Regions from separate parts of the Homo sapiens genome. Here regions 1 and 2 are each linked to region 3. The links are contacts of gene promoters, found by promoter capture Hi-C in blood cells and fetal thymus (Javierre and others, 2016). All regions are on one chromosome and are shown on one strand. Each heading gives the region's core, a stretch centred on a gene start or on the middle of the fragment in contact. The rest is flanking DNA. Distances are from core to core; before and after follow the strand shown.

Region 1 (3,139 bases), core at 209-2,708, 300 kb after region 3:
ACGAGGTCAGGAGATCAAGACCATCCTGGCTAACACGGTGAATCCTCGTCTCTACTAAAAAAATACAAAAACTTAGCTGGGCGTGGTGGCAGTCGCCTGTGGTCCCAGCTACTCGGGAGGCTGAGGCGGGAGAATGATGTGAACCCGGGAGGCAGAGCTTGCGGTGAGCCAGGATCATGCCACTCCAGCCTGGGCGACAGAGTGAGACTCCATCTCAAAAAAAAAAAAAAAAAAAAAAAAGAAAAAAGAAGAAAATTTGGACAATTGGATGGACCTATTGATCTGAATGGGGAAAACTTTGATAACTTATTGGACACAGTGATCATCTACTTACTCAGTGAGTTGAAAACTTACCTTGGAGATAGGAAGCAGGAACTTGTATTGACTCAAAAAATGAGGATGAAAGCTTTGAATCTGGCAATATAGGTGATGCAGATAAGTTCTTGAGATAAAATAACACCAAATACCACAGATCATTCTGTTTTTCTCCTGACTTTTTTTCTATCACTTTTCTTACTACTTTATTTCTTTGCAAGACTCAAAGACTAGACCCATTATTTAATATTAGAAGTTATGTTACCTTTCATTAAGACCCTCTCCCCTCTAACTACTACTAAAGCTACTCACATACCCACTTAGAACATATATCTGTTTTCTAGTATCTAGTCCAGATAAAGCACAAAGAAAAGAGACATTCCAATAAAAATAATAGGTAATACTTATGAAAATTTTACTGTATACCAGGACTGTTATAGGTCCTTCACATAAATTAACCATTTTAATCTCAAAAATTCCACAGATTAGGTACTACTCTCATCCTTTTTATATTTGAGGAAACTAAGGTTTAAAGGGTAAGCAACTTGCTCAAAATTACTTAGTAAGTGGCAGAATCTCACTAGTCTTGGGCTTCAGAATCTATTCCTAACCACTTCACTAGATTACCTCCTATTTTGTGATATTATACTTTGTAACCCTAGTTAAAAGATGTACTTTTGCCAATCAGAAGGTTACTTTGCCTGCTTAAGTCATTAGCCTCAGTTGCCACACTTCTATAATGAAAGTGCTTCATGGGAAACAGTACTAAGAGATTCTTTTTGGTTTTTTTTTTGAGATGAAGTCTCACTCTTGTCGCCCAGGCTAGAATGCAATGGAGCAGTCTCAGCTCACTGCAACCTCTGCCTCCTGGGTTCAAGTGATTCTCCTGCCTCAGCCTCCCAAGTTGCTGAGATTACAGGCGCGTGCCACCACGCCCTGCTAATTTTTTGTATTTTTAGTAGAAGTAGAAGCAGGGTTTCACCTTGTTGGCCAGGCTAGTCTGGAACTCAGGTGATCCACCCATCTCGGCCTCCTAAAGTGCTGGGATTACAGGCGTGAGCCACCGCGCCCGGCTGAGATTCTTAAAAATCATTCTGTCAAATATTATTTATGATTTATTCTTTTTTAGGGCTAGCTTTTAGTAACTGGTTTCTGGAATTATCTCACTGAAGCAATCCCATTGTCATTCATATAACCACATCCAGAATTTGAACAGGACTTCACCATGTCTCTGCTCATGGGCTCCAGAATAAAATCAAAGTCCCAAGAATATCATAAGTAACAACCACAAAGATTGTCAGCCACTTTCTCCTTTTATTTGAGATTGGGGAGGCCTTTTGCTCTTATTTCTGGTGCCAGGTGGCAGGTCCCTAAACTTTGTGCTTTTTAGGTTGTACGCCTGAGGAGTGATGTACCCAGAGTTCCAGAGAAGGCTTGGAAAATAGTTAAGGTGAGTTGGGTTGCTGGTTATGATGGTGGACCAGCAATCTTTATGCTTGTCTCACTACAGCCTCAGATTCTAATTAGTAAAACAGGCATATGCATACAATGATTAAGTGTAGGCATGCATTGTCTTCATTCCCTTTTTATGCATTATATAATTCTACAATGTTCATATTTTATAGCCAAAGGTTTAGTAGTCCACTAATAAGCAGTATTAGCTGCAAAGCCTATATTTAATGTGGTTGCATAGTACAAAAGCATCCTAGATTTCTTGATGCTAACATTGCTGAGTAACCAATTATAATCAGTTATTAATACTTAAGAAAGTTTTATTTGGCTACATTGAATAGCATCTGTTATTGAACAGTGTCTAGAGCACATGTATCCCTTGTGTCAGAATGTGTTTCTGGCTGACACCTTTAGGAGGTACGGGGGATTAAACAAAATATTTTACTTCCCAGTTCCCCACCTCTGCTATCACCCTCTCACAAACTTCATCCAGCATCAGCTTCTTTGCCCTAAAATTTAATCGTCATCTTATAAACTTGCTATTGCAAAGAATTATAAATATTCCTTTAACTGTCTGAAATGCTCTTTCAAACCATGGTCCCAAAATCCTCTACTAAAATTAAGCCTTCTTCCCAAGCATCTGGTGCCATAGCCATAGTTAGCTTCTTTTTGAATGGGCTTGGGGAGATAATATATTTACCCAGGGCTTTACCATGGCTTTATCCATAGAAGACTAGTTTAACAGAAGCTTGGCCCCAGACATGGAGTGAATTGGCAGCCAACAGGAGCAAAGCTGTGTCAGGACAAATGTACACTCTCCATTTTCTCTGGTTGGCTTTCAGCTGGTTGCACCACAGGAGTCTTTCTGTGGACTGCATATCCTGTGACCAGTAACTGGTGCACTCAACCCAGGTCCCTCTTGGCTAGGGAAGGCCTGTCGGGAGGCATTAGGTTCATGCTGGTGGAGATCCTTAGTCAGTGGCTCCCTGAAGGAAAGTAAGGCAAACAGCCAGCTTCTGTTGAACAGGTGGTAGTTAGACCCTAGATCTGCTTGGGGGTGGGAGGAAAAGAATCTCTCCAAAATTACCAGCCTTGCTGGTTTTCACATTATACCTGTACTCTTTCTAATAAATTATTGTTTAGAAACTGACTCAGAAATATCTCTGACAGCATCTGGAGCTTTCTGACTTTTCCACCTTCCTTAGCAGTCTGGATTTGGGCCCAAGTTAGAAATGGAAACCCCACTGGGGTGCAAGCAAAAGAGGAAGCATGTTCTTAGCCATGCATCAGTGGAGGCCCCTACTGGGAGAGGGGATTATCACAAGGCAGCAGGCAGCCCTGCACCCCAGCCTGCTGAGTTCATGCTTTGTGC
Region 2 (3,107 bases), core at 19-2,518, 340 kb after region 3:
TATTATAACATTTAATCTTCACAGTGACCCTCAATGATAAGTATTTTTATACTTATTTTATAGATGAGGAAACTGAGACTCAGAGTAATTAGTAAAATATCCAAAGGTAAATAATATACGGTAAAGTCAGACACCTGGACCTGTTTACTGCCGAGCCCTACATAATTCTCCTTCACTGAGAAACTCAAAGATACACAGTCTCAGTGCCATAGAAGCTAATCCGAAGATACTATCAGCGTAAGCTAGTAGAGCTAGTAATTTACATGTATACTTTATAAATTTTATCTCATTTAGTTCCCGCAGTAACCCTGATCAGATGGTAGTTGTGGTATAATGTAAGTGGTATTATTGTTGCTATTATTAGATGTATGCTTAAATATCTGCAATTCAAGGCAGACCGGTACAATAGTTAAGAGCCAGGCGGCCGGGCGCTGTGGCTCACATCTGTAATCCCAGCAATTTGGGAGGCCGAGGCGGGCGGATCACGAGGTCAGGAGATCAAGACCATCCTGGCTAACACGGTGAAACCCCATCTCTACTAAAAATACAAAAAAATTAGCCGGGCGTTGTGGCAGGCGCCTGTAGTCCTAGCAACTCAGGAGGCTGAGGCAGGAGAATGGCGTGAACCTGAGAGGCAGAGCTTGCAGTGAGCCAAGATCGTGCCACTGCACTCCAGCCTGGATGACAGAGCAAGACTCCGTCTCAAAACAAGCCAGGCAAAATGCTATGGGAATCCAAAGGGAGAAGGGAGATAACTTGATTGGGATTTAGGAAAGCTTAGCTTAGACATTGGGAAAGATATTATTTCACCTGGGCCTTGAAAAATAACATCTGTATAGGTCTATGTTATCACCAGTTAACAGAGAAGAGTGTATCTAAGAGGAGTCACTTGGTCACACAGCCAGTTGACAGAGAAGAGATTATAATTTGGTCTGCCTTACTCTTTACTCAGGATACTGACCTTCGTTTAGAACGGCACACCAGTAAAGATTTGTTGGCCCTTTGGCATCTGTTTGTAACAAAGCTAAGTCCCCAATTCTGTTGTACTCCTGAAACAATGTGAAATTGAAGGAAAGAGATAAATCACAGAAGATTAGAGTCAGCCAGATCAGCCACTCCTTAAGAGTCAAAAGATCTTGATCCTGCCAGGACCTCCGTTACTTTGTCTGAAAAATGACTATAGATGCCAGTGTTTTTCGAACATTCACAGGCATCTGAATCATCTGGAGGGCCTATTAAAACAAAATTGCTGGGACCCACCCCCAGAGTTTCTGATTCAATAGATATGGGATGGAACCTGGGCATTTACATCTCACAAGTTCACAAGTGATGTTGATGCTCCCAGGTCAAGGACCAAACTTTGAGGACCTTCTCTGAGCTCATTTCCTCTCTAATACTCTATTGAAAAACTCTACTGTTAGAATAGAAATTAGGAGGTCTGAACCATGTCGTTCCACCTCCAACTAAGTATTCCACCTTAAGCAAGACACTTAACCTTTCTCTGCCTGTTTCTTCAGTAGAGTGCAGCTCGTAGCTCCCTGTGACTTAGGATGAATGAGTGAATTCAATCTCTCATTTAAAAGAAACCCCTTTTGAAAAAGAATACTATATAAATTATCAATTGTGCATATCCATGTGTGAAGTGAAGATTCTGCTTTGACAGAATCCTTGAGGAAACTGCAGTCTACCTTTAAAGTAAAAAGTTAATAGGAAATGTCTCTTTTCCCTCTTCTCTATTTAAAAAAAAAGAGAAAAAAAAGGAAGCTTAGTGTAAGAAGTGTACCCATGGAGAATGTATTTAAAATCCAAATGACCCATAAGGGACCCCATCCTTTTTGGCAGATAAAAGTTTCCCTGCCATTTATTTGATAAATTAATTAAAAAGAACATAAATAAAAGAGAATAATAACTTAGAGCTATCTGGGCACCTGAGTCTTTGAGCCCTTTAGGGCCTTGGCACCCAAAGAGAAGGGGGAAAAAAAAAACACTGCGTCTCTGAGGCTTTGAAAGTGGTCTTCCTTGAGGCATTAGAGAAGCTCTAGGGGCCCTAGGAGCTAAAGGACTGAGATGCCTGGGGCATGAGTCTATTAGATCCACTAAAGAACCAGGAAAAAAAAAATGGCTGGTAAGTAATTTTGCTATTTCATTTGATGCAAAAGAGAAGGCACAACACCAGAATATTCAGTGAGCAAAAGTACAAAATGTGGCATGGATGTGAATGCAGGCTGACCCCTTCTCGGGAATATTTCTAAGCCTAAATGAAGCACTCAATGCTGAGGACAATGTACAATTCTATGCATTTTAAACCGTAGTGACCCTTTTGTTTCTCTGATAGGTGAAGATGAGGATGAATTTGAGAATTTCATGCTGCCTCTTACAGTTGCTTTTGAAACAGTATTACAAATATTCAACAACAACTTTAAACAAGAAGATGTAAAGGTGGGTTTGTTTCCAAATATGAGGAATGACAGTTTTGTTTTTTCTAGGATATCTAGATCCAGAAAAGGGCTTTGCATATCTGTGTGTACTCTTTGCCTCCTCAGACCTGCTTTCCCAATTGCATGTCTTTAATTTTTACTTTTATTTAAGCATTTTTCTAGTTTCTTAGACAAATGGACTTTGAGGTCAGCAAATAGTTTTGGACAGTCAGTTCATGATAAGATGACATAGATTTGTTTCCTCTGGCAGTTACTATCTTTAATAGGATATTTCTTGTGGGTACACCACTTTAAACACCCCTATTCCCTCATCTATCCTGCACTGTTATGTTACAACAGATCTATATGGAGGAATGCACAAACATACACATACTAAAACACTACATCTCTAAATATTTTTTTAAACAAGAATTTATATAAATCAAGACTTTATTAAATGGCTAGGCATATATGTATAAATAGGAACTGGTCTTGAAGTATTGCATTCTTAAACGGAACAAAGTGATTAGGATAACTGATAGCTAAATAAGGTTTTTATGTGCCTGTGGGAGCCATATTAGGATTGATTTGACAAGTCAGTTCAGCTGTGGCAACAGTCATAATATCTAAGACAACATTATGTTTTATTAGTAAAATCCTTAAGTGTAGCAAGCTGTCTGTGACAAAACA
Region 3 (3,006 bases), core at 201-2,700:
AAGAATTCAATAGAGGGGATGTATAGCAGCTCAGACACAGCAGAACAGAGTTTCTATGGAATGGACAGCAGGCAAATAAAAAATACAGAATAGAAATAAGGAATATAGCAAAAACTTATAACATACATGTAACTGGAGTTCCAGAATGGAGAGGTAGAGAGAGAGAAGGGGACAGATGCAATATTTAAAGAACTAGTGACCAAGATTTTTCAAAACTTGATAAAAAAGATTACATTCACACTTAAAGAGCTTTATGAATCCCAAGCAGGATAAATACAACACACACACACACACACACTTAGCGACATCAAGCACAAAGTGCTGAAGACAAAAAGAAAAAATAAAAAAAGAGAAAAATGTTCAAGTACCTGAGGAGGGGGCCAAAAGACAGGAGCAACAATTAGACTGATGGCTGATTTCTCAATAGAAACAATGACAAGCAGAAGACAATGAGAAGACATTTTTAAAATGCTGAAAGATTAAAAAAAAAGCCAATGTGAAATTCTATACCCAGCAAAACTATCCTTTAAAAAATGAAGGTGAATTAAGATGATTTTATGTTAACAAAAGCTGAGAGACTTTGTTGTTAGCAGACCTGAATACAAGAAGTGCTTAAGGGAGTTTCCCTCTTAAATACTACAGCACAGTGCTCCCAAATGGAAATGCTGAACTTGAAGAAAAAACGGAGAACATCAGAAAGCAGCAACTTTGACCCAATTCTGCTCCAATAAATTCTCATTGCAGTGGAATCATTTGTTGTAAAATATAAGTTCATATTAAACAAAATGCAGACAAAGAATGAGGTAAAGCTTGAATTTTACAACTTAACAGCATGTAGACATGGGCGGTTTAATTTTAACCAAAATCAAGTTAAAAACATTGTTAAGCAACAATGGAATTTGGGCCCTGGGAGTCAGGGGTCAAGGGCAACAGCTGGCATGTGGGAGTCAAAGGTTATGGCTGTGTGTGTCTGTGGTTCCTGGCTGTTAGGAGACAAGAAAATCTGTGGAGATGCAGGTGTCGGGAGCCATGGGCGATAGTTGTATTTTGAGGGTCAGGGGTCAAGAGAGCCTTTGGAAGACTTATGAGTCAGGGTCCACGGCTGACGGGTGGGTCGTGGTAGTTGTGTCAAAGGGCAGAGGTTGGAGGTCATGACCCACCAACACACGCCGGTTGAAACTTGAGCGCAAGGGACGGTTGAGATTCCCGGAGGACACGCCCCTATCGGCCCCGCCCCGTGCACCGCCTCCGTCGCCCCGCCCCGTCCCTCCCAGCCCCGCCCCGTCCCTCCCAGCCCCGCCCCTCCAGCGCTTCGAATGCGGACGCGAAGCCTGGCTGAGGCTGCGAAGGACGAGCGGCGCAGGGACCCCGCGGGCGTCTGGGGCTTCCGCGGCGCCCGCCTCTGCTCCCTCCCCTCGGGCGCTGGGTGCCGACCGGCCGGCTGGCCGGCGCCGCCTCCTGGGAAGATGGCGCTGCACTTCCAGGTCAGTGTGCTCTGCGCCGCGGGCCCGCGCTCCGCCACGCTGGGAACCCGGCGGGACGCGTCTGGAGACCGAGGGCCGAGGACAGCGGCGGAGGCCGCAGGGCCGTGGGCCGGTGTCCCCGGAGTCCCAGCCCCTGCCTCTGCCCCTAGCCGGGGACCGGGACACTGGTCTGGGCTGCACACCCCAGGCCCGGGCCGGAGCCCGAGAAAGGGGCGGCCGAGCCTGGGTTGGAGGCGGCGGGTGGAGGGGGCGGGGGACAGGCCCAGGGCTCGTCCCGGGGAAGGTGCGGACGCCGGCAGCACGCTCGCTGACCGCGGCTTTAGTGTTGCCAGGGCAGGTGGGAGTCCCAGCTGGGCCGGCTTTGGCGCGCCTCGCGCGGCTGCCGAGCGGTGGAGCAGCCTTCCCGCCTTCCCGCCGCGTCGCCGGCGCGGCTCTATCGTCAGCCTCCCTCCACACAGTTGAGCCCCAGCCGGAGCGGGGGCTTGGGATCCACCGAAGGAGCGGCGGCAGCGGTTGGACTTTAATTGGCCAGAGGAGACAGGGGCTGCGTCTGGGGGGAGTTGCGAGGGAGGGCTACGCGGCCGCCTCTTCGGAGGAGGAAACCCGGGCCGGGCGCGGGCGCGGGCGCGGACGCGAGGATCGCAGAGGCTACGAAGATGGGACGCGTGCTTGTATATCCTCGGGCTGCTCTGACATCCCCGTTCAGTTATTCAGCAAACATTTATTATCTCCCCACTGTGTCTCAAGCATTGTGGAAAGTTCTGGGGATAAAGGATGACATCTTACTATCCTCGCCCTCATACAGTTAACAGAGAATTACAGTACAAGTGAAAAATGTATGGTAGAAATAGTCACAGTATCATAGCACAGAAAAGGGGGTAGCCAGCCAAATGTGTATGTTGAGAAGGAGTGAAGCAGAGCTGCTATGCTCTTAGCTGAGAGATGCTTTAAGATTCTTTGAGCCTCCATTCTTCCATTTATTAATTATTGAGCGCCTACTATGCTAGGCGCTGAAGATACAACAGCTCTGAACAAAACTATGGTTTCTACTCTCAGGGAACTTGCAGTCTACTGGTCCTTGAAAGAGTCGTAGTTGTTTGCCAGGTGAAGAGGAAGGGAAGGATATGGAGGTAGAAGGACGTGTGAGCCAAGGCAAAGAATTGTGGAAGAACATGGTGTACTGCAGAAAGTTGAGTCTGGTTGGGACAAAGGGATGGGATCAGGGGAGGCAGTGGGTGGCAGGAGATGACCCCAGGGAGGGAAGGGAATTTCATAATATGGTGACAGTGTATCTAAGAATCTCATTCCCCTTGTAGACTCTTTTGAACCCCCTGTGATCACACTGATTTATAACTTGGCTGATTTATTGATTCTTCTAAAGGGTCTTTTTTTTAAAACCAGTTACTGTCTGATAATCGACAGTTCTAGAATGTTATGTAGTAAGCCCGACACATTACCTTTTGACTTCATGCCATTTCTAAGGGTCCTCAGGTCAAAATAATGTATTACCACTTTAGTAAAT

The links. The method cuts DNA at HindIII sites, captures the fragments that hold promoters and counts their contacts. A CHiCAGO score of 5 or more calls a contact.
Region 1: a contact is called between a fragment that was not itself captured here and the fragment with the promoter of RANBP17 in region 3, in 2 of 17 cell types (megakaryocytes and M2 macrophages). The highest score is 5.9, in megakaryocytes.
Region 2: a contact is called between a fragment that was not itself captured here and the fragment with the promoter of RANBP17 in region 3, in 3 of 17 cell types (megakaryocytes, endothelial precursors and M0 macrophages). The highest score is 5.5, in megakaryocytes.

The regions. Positions count from the first base shown.
Region 1 is chr5:171,159,702-171,162,840 of GRCh38, forward strand. The region is part of intron 14 of RANBP17 (RAN binding protein 17); the gene reads left to right. Among named protein-coding and RNA genes, the nearest start is that of TLX3, 150 kb to the right of the region's middle. The HindIII fragment of the contact is 2,109 bases long and covers 405-2,513 here.
Region 2 is chr5:171,197,335-171,200,441 of GRCh38, forward strand. RANBP17 (RAN binding protein 17) reads left to right here. Exons shown (of 28, transcript NM_022897.5): 19 at 2,336-2,439. Among named protein-coding and RNA genes, the nearest start is that of TLX3, 110 kb to the right of the region's middle. The HindIII fragment of the contact is 988 bases long and covers 775-1,762 here.
Region 3 is chr5:170,860,568-170,863,573 of GRCh38, forward strand. It overlaps RANBP17 (RAN binding protein 17), which reads left to right and starts at 1,451. Exons shown (of 28, transcript NM_022897.5): 1 at 1,451-1,484. The coding sequence starts at 1,467. The HindIII fragment of the contact is 4,534 bases long and covers 808-3,006 here.